2 separate regions of the Homo sapiens genome follow, and region 2 is linked to region 1. The links are contacts of gene promoters, found by promoter capture Hi-C in blood cells and fetal thymus (Javierre and others, 2016). All regions are on one chromosome and are shown on one strand. The core of a region is centred on a gene start or on the middle of the fragment in contact, and the rest is flanking DNA. Distances in the headings are between cores, read along the strand shown.

Region 1 (7,606 bases), core at 3,548-6,047:
TTGTAGAATGTAATAGGAAGGACTAAATACATGAAAACAGATATTTTCACTAGAATTAGACTAGAAGAAACAATTATCACAATTCTAGAAATAAGTATTCATGGATTAACTCAAAGAGAAGCGGATTCAGCTACTCAGCTTTGTAATTTAAAGTGCATTAGTTTTTTGGTCTTGTTGTACCTTAGACTTGCTAAATTAATCATTTTACCTATTCTTACCACAGACAATGACTTACTCTCTACCAAATAAAACGTTGGTTTATAAGGAATTATTTCTTTGATGATTCTGATATTGCTTATATTTTTATTGTCTCTTCCATAGTAATGACAAATTGCTATTAAACAATTTACACAGTTCACATCATTAAACATCTAGTTACAATACCTGGCATTACAATATTTTGATTTTGTGAAATGTTATACTATATGCTTTATATTTTAGAAAAATTAAGATCATAGCCACTAGCCACAGAAACCTTTCATATCTCAAAACTTTAACTGATATAATTTCTCTGCTTATTATTTTCAATAATTTAAAATATTCAAAATGTCATGACTACTTACTAGTGCTCATTTATAACCTAAAATAATCTGTTATTCCTATTGCTTAGAATTCTATTATTATACTTAGCATTTGAGGCTCTCTGTAATCTGGCATTTTCCTTACTCAACAAATGTCCTTTCTACCACTCTGTAGCATGAGTGGATCATTCTATTCAAGATAATATTTTAAATTGTCCCATAAATATATCAGGCTCATTCCCATCACTCTTTTATTCATATTGCTCCCCAAAATGTAACATCCTCTTCTCTCTTTTTACCATCTATCTATATTCTAGTATTATGATCATTCAGAATACCTATATAATTAATTACCTTTAAAGAAAGGAAATTAGAACCTCACTTCATACATTCAAAAACGTTAGATATATTAAAAAGTCTAAAAATTAAAGTATAACACAGCTAGAAGAAAATATATGTAAATATTTGAACACAGAATAAAGTCTAAATATAAAACCAATGGAATAAATTATAAATTATCACTGGATTTCATAAAAACAAAGTTCCATACACTAAAAATAACCATTGAACAAACTGAAATGACAAGAAACTGAACTCCTATATCAGAAACTGTATAAAAGATACCTTCTTAAGTTTCCCTTTCCAAATATTTCAGAGAACACCTGAAGGCTATTTATACCAAGCAAAACAGAAATATTACAGTCAAATATATTTCCAATAAGGATTTTCTGCAGGTTTATTTTAGGGAATCTGCTTATTTTTGCTGCTTAATTCTAAACCCTCCCATTAGGTATTTTAAATGCCTGGGCTTCGTTTTTTTCAACAAATGTTTTTATTGCACTGCAGCCACATGCCAGGAATTGTGCTAGATACAAAAATGCACTGATGTGTAAAACAAATATGATCCCATCACACAACTGAAGCCTAGTGGAAGATAAACTTTAATCAAGTAATCACACAAATTGTGGCTTATAAACAAAAGGTGCAGGGCACTATGAGAGCATATAAAAGCAACTTCACCTATTGGGGATATGGGATATGTATATGTCAAGGAAGACTTCTTATCTACATACAACTGTAAGCTTTTAAAACAGCAGGGCTCTATCATAAATAGATTCTGCACCTTTCTGCATCTAACACAGTAAGTCTTCTATATTTGTTAAATAATTTGTTCCAATTAAAATTTGAGGCTGTCCTTACTAACTAGCCTTCTTTTTCAGTGGTGTGCATGAAGTCAGCTTTAGAATGATCAATACTGTAGACTAGACACTTTAAGAGAGACAATTTAGAAAGACACACTTTTATTCTTATGATTAAACAATTTAAAAAGAAATCTGTTTATATGATTTAATAATCAATATTATCAGATTTAATGGTAAAATACCATTTAAACATCAAAGGAATAACGTTAATTCATATTTCTTTAAAAAATTATTCACATAATTCATGAACTAAAACAGCTTTAAAATTTTTTTCACTAACAGTACACATAGGTCCTTGAAAGTTTTTTAAAAGCATGTATTTTTACATTGTGTATCCTGGAAGTTTATTTATTACTAATTCACAAATATCTTTGCATTGCTTGGAAATATTTAGTGAACCAACATCATCATTGCCTTCTTCAAAGTGATCTGATGTACTGCTATCCAGGACATTAAGTTCGGACACATTTGAAGGCAGGTAAGAACTCACCTGGGATGTTTGTGGTGACTGGCTTTTTTCTAAAGATTTCCAACTACTTCTTGTTTTAACAGAGATGTCTTGAGCTCTCTTTGTAATTTCAGAATTGTGCATACTATTTTGATCTATCTGGTTTTCTTTTTGTTCAGTCCAATGTGTTGAAGATAAATCACTAGCAGAGATACTAGATGCTTCCTCCAAACTTTTATCCTGAGTCTTTGAAATATGAAATTTTCTGTATGAGTGTACAGGTGACCCGGCTGAAAAAGGTGGGCTAAGGATAGAACTCCTGTCACTACTATTTTTCTTTTTGGACACTCCTGTGTCACTAGACTTGCTTGTATATTGACTATGTTTTGGATTTTCTGTCCTTGAACTGCTATCATGAGCTTTGAAACTTCTGCTGGTGTCCTCACTGGTACAGAAATCTTCAGAATAGCAAGGGCTAGACAAATCATCTGAATACTTCAGTTCTGAGATGTTTTCATAGCAACTATTTTTACCTGTTCTCTTGTCACTTATATCAGCCATAAGAATGTCATTATCTGTGGTTTTGACCTGTCTAATATCTATTTCCTTATCTACAATTCTGTCAACAACAGCATCCTGTTGGAAAACACATGGACTTTGGATTTTCATTTCCACATTTCCTCCCAGAATATTTGTAGGGGTAAGCCTTTCTGGAATAATGGAATTTGCAGGACTCACAACTTCTTCCAATGAAACATTATTGATTCTATTTTTACTACAATCAACTGTCTTTTTTTCAGTTGCATATTTCAGTTTAGTTTCTTTACTTGTGCTGGGCTCATCAAAAACTCCACTGATTTGTCTTGAGGTATCACTATTTTCAGTGAAAGATGCATCTGAATCTAAATACTTATCTTCAGGCAGTTGTGGCTTCTGACTTTGTTCTGCAGAGCTTAATAGTTTAACTTTGGATGACGGAATTCTGAATTTTGTACCCAACATTTGTGATTGTCTTTTTCTATATAGTTCTCTTTTTTCATGTACCACCAACATATCAGGATTTGTCAGCTTTAAACGTAGTCTTAGTGTATTTGTTAAGCCATAAAGTAGCCTCCCTTTTGGAACTCTTTTATGGAGGGCACCACTGCTCTTTTCAGAATATTTATCTTCCTTATAGTTTTCAATTTGGTTCTTTTTATACTGAAGACTCACTGACTTTTCACATCCCCCCACAGAACGCTTATCCTTCTTGGCTTCAGACCGGCATGTGGATTTGGCAGAAGATTCGGGTGACTTCTTATCCTCAGTCCTATATAACCAGGCTAGGTGAGGATGTATATGAGCAGGACTTGTCACAGGTTGGTCATATAACAAGGACAACTCAACTAACAAAGCATTTAACAAAGGCAACTGCCTTATTGTATTAATTCGATTTTGTTCAGTTTGACATGTTTGATTAGTTGCTCCTATATTCTGAATATGTGGAGGATTTACAAGCATTGGAGGATGTTCGTGTGCTGCAGAACTTGGATGCTTTAGACAACTCCTGTGTGCTGGGGGATTTACACGCTTTTTTTCAGGAGAAGCATCATCCATTTCCTCAGGTGCATTCATTTGAGGCTCAATGGTGATTTTAGCCTGTGCAGGGGGCGGTTTTTCTTGGGTCAAGTTAGTGTAATACAAAGGAGGAGGGCAAAATATATTGGTCTCCATGTCCAATTCTGTGACTTCCTCATTTAGGGAGCTAACATTTCTCCCATTGCCAGCACCTGAACATGTAACAACAGAATTGGTTTTGCCATTCTCCACAGAACCCACATTATCACATTCGGCCTTACTTTTAACCATTTCCTTCAAATCCTTCTGTGCCTCTGGGATTTCTAACTCCCCCAGCGGCTTATCAGCCTCTTTTGGGCTTGGCTGTGAGGCTGGCTGCTGCAGCTGCTGTCTTTCCTGCTGGGTTTGGGGACTGACCTCCGCTCCTCCTCCTGTGCGGGTGAAGGTGAGGGGCCGCTCAAGTTGGCTCAGCAGGCGGCTTCCCAGGTCAGTCAGGCGGTAGGCCAGTGCAATGTCCCCAGTCCGCTCGCCCACTCGATTATGCAGGGGGAAACGTCCCCGGTGACGGTGGGAGCATCCGGAGGCGGCCGGCCCCACGACCCTGTGCGCTGCGGTGGCCAGCGAAATGTCGCAGGCCCCCAGGAGCTGTGGGGTGGGCGTCGGGCGCCCAGGGGGCAGCTGCAGCAGCAAGGTGGCAAGCGGGGTCCGCAGGAGCCGGCAGTGCAGGGTAGCAGGCTGCAGGCGGAAGAGGCAGGACTTGCCGCGACCGAAGCGGATGACACCGGGCCACGGTTCGGCGGCGGGAGCGCCGGGGCCGTCAGGAGGGTAAACCAACAGCGTGGGGAAGTCCAGCAGGCGGAAGGCCACGGCGGGGCACAGACCGCGCGGCGACGAGGCCTCCCCCTGCTCCTTTTCCTCCTCTTCCTCCTCCTGCTCCACTGCGGCAGCGGGGGACGGCAGCAGCCGGGCTTCCAAACGCACCCAGTCCACCAGCAGCTCCAGCGAGAAGAGCCGCTCGGACAGCGAGGCCGCCATTGCTGTTGCCCCAGGAAACGCCGCCGCGGGCTCCGCAAACGAGAAGCTGAAGCCCCGGGGTCTCACGAGAAACCGGAGCAAAAGGCATCGCTGCCTGCTATCTCGCGAGATTTGCGGAAGCGCTCCAGCGGGTCTCGGGCGGTGTCTGCTTTGGGGGTTTTGCTGCTCAATGTGTTTGGCCCCTTTGTATGCATACTTGTGAGCCGTTTTTTGCCACCAACCTTGTATTAAGACAATTGATGATAATGCTGAGGATATAAGTGGTAAAAGACAGTGAGTTTTTTGGGTAATGGTTTTATCACTGCAGATCTTATGTAACTTGGGGGTCAGATCAATATACCTGAGGAATATTGAAAGAAAATCAGGACTCTCCTTCCTTTCCCATGCTAAACAGAGCCAGTTAGTTAACTGTCCACAGTGGGCCATCTCTGTGTCTGCTGTTCTACCCAAAAGATGGTGACACTGCTGGGATGGCCAGGGAGCCCCTGCCTCATCAATTACAGTAGTACTGAGACAGACACACCACACACACACGGAGTGTGAATACACTGGCAAAAACTCTCCTTGGCTGAACTTTGGTCAGGCTCATCTAAGCCTTCTTTCCGACTAGGCCTTGACCTTGGCTTCCAATCCTGTGGACCCTGGATCACCGAGTTGTAGCAAAGGTCTCGCTACGGCTGTTGAGAGAGAACCCCCAACCCTTCATACCTGATTACCGTCGATACCTGATCAAATTCTTCATTTTCTATCATTGGTATCTGACCACCCTGGCCTGGCTTCAGCAAGAATCCTATTAGGCCTGCTTAATCAGAACCCTCCCACCCGTGATGTTCCCTATCAGTAAGTTTCCATCCACTTGACCTGACGCCCCCTTGGCTTTAAATCCCCACTTGTCCATGCTGTAATTGGAATTGAGCCCAGCTCTGTATTGAGGTCTCTTTTCTCTTATTGCAGTAGTTCCTGACTACAGTGTTTTTGCCACTTCAACTACTGTCTGGCCCTGTTTTTTATTTGACAACATTTCCAGCTAAGCAATCATGATGCATGAGAGTAATGTTAATGATTCCATCAATAAAACAAATGTGTGTACATAAATATACACACATCTACAGAGACACACAGAACTTGCTGCTCTATCCAGATATTTTAAGAAACATACTCCTAACCTCAATGAGCTAGCCAGCTAGGAATCCAAGGCCAGTTTTTGGAGAGCCTTGAATGCCATGGTAAAGAATTTGGACTATATTCTGTCCAAATTTTTTTGATTGAATAAGTACATCATAGCAATATTTGGAAATGTATCATGGGGAGGAATACAAAGGATGGATTCTACTAATTAGAAATTGGATTCAGAGCAATCTATTAGAAGACTACTGCAGTGGTCTAAGAGGCAGATAATTATGACCTGCACATGGTCAGGACTAGTGGAAATTAAAAAGAGGTGGCAGAAGAGGCATTTGTGATGGAGGAATTTTAAAATTTGGTGAATGGGAAAGAAAAGTCATGGGTGAAAAACTTCTGCTACTGAAGGTGAAAATATTGAGGAGGCACAGATTTGACGGAAAAAAATACTTTGAGTTTTGAGATATGTAAAGCTTGAGGTACCTGCTGCTGGGCATTATATATGTACCGCTTTATTCAGCTTTATAAATTATAGTTAAATTATATTGCTTCAGTGCTCAGAAGAACATTGTGAAGCTCAAGAGAAATTCAGAACTGGAGGGATATGATGCTTTAGTGTGAAGACGTGAGAGAGAAGTCTCATTGCAATATATAAATACAAGATACTTCTCGGACCAGATGCGGTGGCTCACGCCTGTAATCCCAGCACTTTGGGAGGCCGAGGCAGGCAGAACACGAGGTCAAGAGATCGAGGCCATCCTGGCCAACATGATGAAACCCCGTCTCTACTAAAAATACAAAAATCAGCTGGGTGTGGTGGTGCATGCCTGTAATCCCAGGTACTTGGGAGGCTGAGGCAGGAGAATCGCTTGAACCAGGGAGTTGGAGGTTGCAGTGAGTGAGCCGAGATCGCACCACTGCACTCCAGCCTGGTGACAAAGCGAGACTCCATCTAAAAAAAAAAAAAAAAATTACAAGATACTTCTCTTGGCTTTGAGAATCTTGCTATATACTTGCAGAGGACACATATCAAGCAACATCCTCAATGGATAGATGATGTAGAGCAATAAAAAAAAGACATCATCACAAGTGAAAAGCAATGAGGTATTGAGTCCATGTGCGCCAGAGAAATACAGTAGACAAAATTCCTCTTAGAAGATATCCTGTAGTTAGCCTTTTGAGTAAAGTTAATAGTGTGCACTAGTAGCACTTGTATGTCTCTTACATATGAATAGAAAAAGCGAAGTCCCTCTTCTATAAAGACATTATTTCTGCAATATGTAGTTTCTGCAATGATAATAACTTCTCTACCCAGCTACTCTACATGACTGGTATTATAATGTATGAATAATATTTTATACTTGTAAATAATGCCAAAAGTAACAAATAAAATTTTGCCATGACAAATATTTTCCCCATGTTTCTACACCACACATGGAGAAGTAGCACAGTGCAGTAGCTGAGCGCCTGGGTTCTGGAAGCAAACTACCTGGCTCAAATCCTGGTTCTGTGACCTTATACTAGTTTCTGAACTCTCTGTGAATCATTATCCTCATTTGAAAAATATAGTTACACTAACTACCTCATAAAAATATTATGTGTGTTAAGTGAATTAATACTTACAAAACTCTTAGAACAGTGCCTAGCATATAGTAAATATTTGTTAAAATAAATATTGTTTTATTTATTATTTGCCACATGGCACACTTTTTAGCTGAGTG
Region 2 (6,955 bases), core at 4,060-6,559, 160 kb before region 1:
AGAGCCAGTGGCTTTCCTTTAGGAACTGGGATTGTGCCAAGGATTATAGTCCCTGGGGTAGACAGCGTCTGACGAACAGCTTGAATGAAAAGCTGACTGAAGAGCTCCATCTTCCCAATCTCATCGATGACGCACACTCTTTGCCCTGGGCCACTGCTGCAGTCGGCCTGAGAATGACAAAGACTTTCACTGGGACATCAGAGTCACATTAATCAAAGGGCCCATGGGTCCCACTCCCCAATCACTCACCAATGAGGTAAAAAAGACAGAAACCTTTTTACTGGATTTCAAAAAGTGACAGCATCCCACAGACCACCGCTGGTACTGTGTGGGAGGGGACTGCACAAGGGTGAGTCCCAGGAGCTGGGAATCATTAGGACTCTTGGAAGCTGGCAGCTATGCCTGTCACCAGTGGGATGTTCAAGGAAGTAACGGACATAAATTGGAATAAAGTCATGAGAAAGAGAATCTGAGATCTAAAGGATGCAATTGTACTTACTTTTTTTTCCCCTTTAGCCAAGACTTGTTTCCTTTTAATTTTCACTTTTTTCCAACAACGCTTATGGACCAGATCATGAAATACACAAACATCTACCTAGAGCAGTTATCTCCCCCCCAGCACGTAGGGAATCTCATATGGCTCAAAATGGAAAAAAGAGGCCATTATTATCAACAAAGGCTCCCATGCTTGCTGTCTCACTTTTTTTAAGCCTGAGGTATTTGGGTGCCACTTATTTTCTGGTTGTATATAAATATAAAGCTTGATCTCTGTCTTGGATCCCCTCTCTCGAATCACTCACTCTGGGGGAAGAGAAGTGCTATGCTGTGAGGATACTCAGGCAGCTGACGGTGAGGTCCACGTGGTGAGGCACTGAGGCCTCATGCCAACAGCCAAGAGGAAATGAACCTGCCAGCAACCACATGAGCAAGCTTAGAGGCAGGGCCCTCCCAGGCAAGCCTCAGATGACCACAGCCCCAGCCAACAGCTTGACTGCAACCTCAGAACCCCAGCTAAGCTGTACCTGGATTCCTGATCCTCAGATACTGTGTACAATAATGTGTTTGTTGTTTTAAGCTGCTAAATTTTGAGATAACTTGTTCCATAGCAACATATAACTAACACACATGTCCTCTATAGAAAGCCTTCCTGGGGAAGGCTGACAGGACTTTGGTTGATTCTTCCCTGGGAGGGACAAAACAGAACATGTAATAAACACTTCAATGAATGGTGAATGACAAATACACCTTATATATGTTTGTATACATGATTATTTTGAAAACTGTATGTAAAGCTGATTTACAAAGTATTCTTCACTACAGTTCTGATTCCTTAAATGATGACAGCAATATAGTCCTAGAGGGCATGTCTGAGTTAAGCTAGATTTTGTTCAAATTCCAAAAGCCAAAGCAGCATATGGTACAGTGTGGCTGGTGGTAGGGATCAGTGGCAACCAGGGGCAGCCAGTGACAGACGGGGCTGCGGGCCCAGATCCTAAAGGCCTTCGAAGGCACACACAGAGGTGGGAATCTTCTCCCACAGCCGAAAGAGTCTAATCCAGGGAGGATCACAAGTTGTGCTAGAAAGACTGCTGGCTGTGGAGTCAGAAACAAATGTTAGACTCCTTTTGGAATAGACAAGATAAGATAGTGGGTGTCTAAACCCCAGTTGTGATTGCACGGAAGCAGTACAGCAGTGTTTTTCAGACTTTTAAGTAAACAGTACTCTATTTTCCTACTGCATATTGTACACTTATGAAATATTTTTCCATTCATTTTATTAGCTAAAAGATCAATAAGGAGTCCACTGTAATCACCCAAGAGAGGTCTGAACAATCTCCGCACTTCTGTGTTTCTGACATGCTTCATTTTTGCCTCTCTATTAAGTTTATCTGTACACACGCCTGGTCTCCCCACTTAGGGCAGGTACATGGTTGTCCTCGTCCGCATCCTTCCTGGGGAACTCACCGATGTCCCAGAGCTGAGAAGTGGGGAGCTGAAGGAGCAATGTCACCCTCCACTGGTGGGGTCGGGGAGAAGGGCAGAGCATCTATGAAGTAAGTCACTACTTATTCCAAGTTTTTCCTCCAAAACGAAAGCCATATTTGGGAGAAATAAAACAGCTATCAACCACCTGTCTATGATAATAAAAACAGACAACTGTACAAGAAGGTTTCTGTCTTCCTGGGGGCATGCCACTCCAACTGACCCGACTGTTCCCAAGTGCTGTGGACATTTTGCTGCCCCCAGAGACGAAGAGTAATTGTGGATGCCATTCCTCTGGAGGCTGTCATCTAAAAGCCAAAATAAAACTTATTCTGGCACCTCAAAATGAGTTTTGGAAGGTGCCAAATCAGACAAGAAGTGATATGAAAGAATGTGTGTACACATGCACATGTATTTATTTGACTATATACATGAGGGTAGTAAAATGCACGTGGCCATGTGTAAATACACACGTACAGGTAGAAAGTGTGTGGCTCTTCAACAACCAGCCTTCCTGCAATCCTCTAGAACATTCACCAGTGAAAGCTCATCAACATTTATTTAAGTTTCAGCACAAAAGAATTTGGACACACATGTATACATTACTTTCTACCAATTGGAAATCCTCATTTTAAAACCTTAGCTTACATAAAATCCTCAATCTGTCCAGAATTGGGGAATTTTATAATCCAAGAACTTCAGGAATCTCAAAAATAAATCTGTGATTTTTAATTAAAAATGCAAGTTATTCATATTCAGTTGAGAGAAAGATGTCAGCTGCTGAGCCACTCTGAAGCATGTAGACACTCAGCCTGCTTTTCTAAATAGTACAAGATCATACACTCAAGGTCTTAAAAAAAGAACCACTATAACGTGTAACATGGTTTTATTTCTATATAAATTCAAGCAACTTTAGAGGGAAACAAAGAAATAAGTAAGTAAACAAACATTCACCCCCTTTACATTGTTCTAAATTGATAGAGACACAGACTTAGAACAATAGGGGCCCAGGTTTGAAGATGGTCAGGAACCCCTCCCCAACCCCCAGTGTGAGGAGAGTCCTAATGAGCTCCCAGAGAAACTCCACCTACAGCTGCTGGAGTAAGGAGTGTGTAAAAACTGTAGGTGGCTCTCAGCCACGTGGTCAGAATCACGATGTACACACCATCTGGGGTGTACACACCAACTGGGGAGCACCCTTTCCTCCCCTCACAGCCTCTCCTCAGAGAACAACCCAGGCAGCATTGCTTCCTAGTGCCACACCTCAGTCCTATGTAACACACTAGCCTTCCTGGCCACACCCCTCACAGGCTTCCACTTCAGCTGATTATAAATGTTCAGCCATGAAGCGCACTTTTAGTTTCCCTGTTCCGGGAGAGAAGATATTTCCTTAGATAGAGTCCTAAAATTGACCAGCCAGGGATAAGAGAAGCTACGAATAATTTTATAACTTTGGTTACACTCACCTAGTTTGCTTTCCAGAAAGATTAGAACAACAAATATCTTCGTACCAGTTATATCAGAGACCTGAAAATAGTGTGATTTTTTTGGGTCCTTTATTTTTATATGTACTTTTAAAAATACAAAGAACATATAAATATAAAATAATTTCATTTAACCAAAATATCAAACTGAGAGCAAGCTAATCCAAGTGGTCTTTGCCTTATTCTGAATTATTTGCATAATAAATGTTTCCAGTGGTATTAATGTTAATTTTAGGAGGACTGTTTGGATTGTTTTATTTTAATATCAGACACACAGACTAGCTCCTGAGCTTACCCACCTGGGACAGCAAGTATGGAAAGTCATGAAAGTGAATAAGGAGTGTCTCTCAGAAGTTAGGCAGCAAAACTGCAGCCCTTCGCCAAACAGCAGCAAGTTCTAGGGAAGCAGAAAGGCAAATGGTGCTAACAGCAGCCATCTCTGAGCCAGCCCACAATTCCTCACCCACTGAAGTTATTAGCTAAAAATGCAGGGCTCCGGTCATATTTTATGTGTGTTTATTCCAAGCCTTCAAGTCTCATAATCCCTTTGCTGTCTGGTGGCATATGGACTGTGAGTCTCCAGGGCATAGCCAGGACAAGGTGTCTAGACTGCCCGATGGCGCCTGGTAACCCGGCCCTTCCCCAGTCAAGAATACTCCGGGCAGAAGCTGCTCCCCCGGACATGCCAGAGATCCTCACCCCGGCACACAGACAGACTAGCTCTGAGGCTCTTCCTGGATGTCCTAAATGGCCTCTCGGGACTCACAGGGGCTCACCCACATGGTCACCCGACTGAAGAGCGCTTGAATGGTAGCCATGGGGTTTTCCAAGCTATCTTGGGACTGAAACAACACCTCCTGGCTGACAGTCAGTCCAGTGAGACGGAGAGCCCAGTACTCCTCGTCCTCCTCATGCTCTGAGCACTTGGGACTGGCCTGCACATTTGGGCTCCTGGGACTCCATGACAGATTACTATCCCACTCCGGACCCCAGCTCCCTGGCAAACACAAACCAAATTGTGAAGGGAGGCTCCTCTCAAGGTACTGCCATCCACCACCTCAATTAACTTCTCAAGAAAATAATCACTGCTATTGCTCTGCTGAGCACCTCCTAGGAGCCAGGGGCCAAGGCACTTTACAAGCATTACATTCAGTCCTCCCAGCAACTTCACATAGCAGGTAACAGCATCTGTTTCACAGATGAGGAAAGGAAATTAGGCATTAAGGGATTTACTCAAAACTCACTGAGAGCACAGTGACAGAGCTGGAGTCAAACCAGAGATCACCTGACTTCAAAGCTCTCTTCCACACCCTGTGTGCAATACGCCTCCACACTTTGATTCTGAAATAAAGAATAGCATCTAGGAAACTGACCTAACCACGAAGAAACTGCTTTCCTCTCCAATAAGAACGAATAGCACTCTGGTGTTTAGGGATCTATGGAGGCATAGGCACAAAACCTCAATTTATTTGGAGTAATCATATTGCTCTAAATTACTCGAAAATAACTCATATTTTGGGTCTGAGAATAATATCACCAAAATTATTTCATCAAGTATGGATAGCGAATGGCCCACTGCAGTAGGCAGATATGATAAAGTAAAAGGACTTCTCTCCTCTACCAGGAGCACACCCCGAGAAGACGGTGGAAGAGTTATGACCAGGTATCCTGATATGTCCACCTTCCTGCCAGTGTTTACAAAAACCAAATTAAAAAAAATTTCACTTGCTTAGTAAAAATTTTCATCAATATTTAAGCTTTTGGTAAATGTTTAGTATCTCTGATACCTGATACCGTTTTCATTAGAAACTGCCTGAGGAGAAAGAACTGATTGTTTTTCCTATAATAAAATGGTGATGGCTTTTCTAATGGGGAGGTAACCGGATACAAATAGAGAGAAGCACAGCTTAGAGTGGAAAAAAGCTTAACCATTATGGCATTTTTTTTAGTGCAGCTTCAATGTATAGTAATTTTATGTTTGTTAATTACTGCTCACCTTGCTAGAGAAACAATTTCAAAAGAGAGTAGTTAAATCTGCTTGCCAATTAAGGCCTCAAGAGAAAATTATTTTTATCTTAAGATGATCTAATAAAGTTTAGATAAAATTAGAATTGGCTAGGGGAAATCTGATGAGGAGGATGTGCATGGTCTCACACTATCTCCCCACTCACTGCTCATTAGTGTCAAAGAAAAAAATAGTAACTATACAGTGGAGAAATAGGACAAGTCCTTGATCAGGTAATCAAAATTAATATCACTAAACATCACACACCTCCAGATGAGATACTCGAGAAGGATGCATCATCACTTATGACTTATGGAGTATTCCAGCTTTATTTGGTCATGAGGAAACATCAGAAAAACTCCAAAAGATGAACGTTCTTTTAAATTGGAACTATATTCTTTACAAATGTCAATGTCCTGGAAGACAAAGAATGACTGTGGAAATGTTCCAAATTAACGGAGGCTATGGAGATGTGACAACTAAGTGTAACATCTGGAGGAAAAGAAATGTTACAAAGAATATTGTCAACTGATGAAACTAGAACACTAACGATAGATTAAAGTATTTTTTCAATGTAAGATTTACAGAGGTTGATAACTGTATTGATTATGTAAAAGCATATCCTTATTTTTAGGAAAAATATACTGAACATTTAGGAGTAAAGTACCTTGATGATTGCAACGTATTCTCAAATAGTCACCCCCTTCCAGCTTATATATTTATACACACACACAAACACACACACACACACACACACACACACACACAGAGAGAGAGAATAAGCAAACAAGGCAAATGATAAACATAGGTGACTCTGGATAATGAGAGTATACAGGTGTTCTTGCACTATTCTTACACTTATAACTTTCTCTAAGAGTAAAATTTTATCCAAATGAAGTTAAAAAAATTGTCAAAAAAAGAAAACACACACGTATGTACTTTCTCAGTACCAGACTCAAGAAAACAACCAACTCACCCCGTATGAACTTCCTCCTAATGGAGTGTGGTTTTAGACTGATACGCACGGGAGGCGAGACAGAAGGAAATGCTGGAAATGGGACAAAGTGAGAGGGAAAAAGAAAAACGGCAACAGTTTATACAAACTCAACCCCAGTCCAGCTTAAGGGACGTGTGACTTAAGGAGCATGCAACTTTTCTGTGTTTCTTGAGAGTGGACTGCAAGAAGAAAGACATGAAGGTGTCATAACCCAGGGCAAAAGCCTGCTTAGCATCTAAATCCACAGAATCTCGCCAACAATCAGAAATAATAAAGTCTCAGTCTCTGCTCAATAGAAATTATGAAGATTTGCCATGACAAATCTTGCAAAATGAACTGCAGAGTCAACCTCATGCTGAATTTTCACCTCATTTTCTTATGCTGATTCACTGCAGGAATGTCCTTACTGACAGTTTAAAAACTGATTTTCTGTTTGCGCCAGATAGCTTTTAATTTCCCTGGCTGATCCTGCATTACATACTTGTA

What was found. The method cuts DNA at HindIII sites, captures the fragments that hold promoters and counts their contacts. A CHiCAGO score of 5 or more calls a contact.
Region 2: a contact is called between a fragment that was not itself captured here and the fragment with the promoter of MAP10 in region 1, in 1 of 17 cell types (fetal thymus). The highest score is 5.7, in fetal thymus.

What each region holds. Positions count from the first base shown.
Region 1 is chr1:232,802,607-232,810,212 of GRCh38, reverse strand. It overlaps MAP10 (microtubule associated protein 10), which reads right to left and starts at 4,797. Exons shown (of 1, transcript NM_019090.3): 1 at 284-4,797. The coding sequence starts at 4,763. The coding sequence ends at 2,046. RefSeq lists enhancers at 3,808-4,404, 4,614-4,693, 4,405-5,002. The HindIII fragment of the contact is 4,755 bases long and covers 1,606-6,360 here.
Region 2 is chr1:232,963,121-232,970,075 of GRCh38, reverse strand. NTPCR (nucleoside-triphosphatase, cancer-related) reads right to left here. Exons shown (of 5, transcript NM_032324.3): 4 at 1-167. Among named protein-coding and RNA genes, the nearest start is that of NTPCR, 16 kb to the right of the region's middle. The HindIII fragment of the contact is 166 bases long and covers 5,227-5,392 here.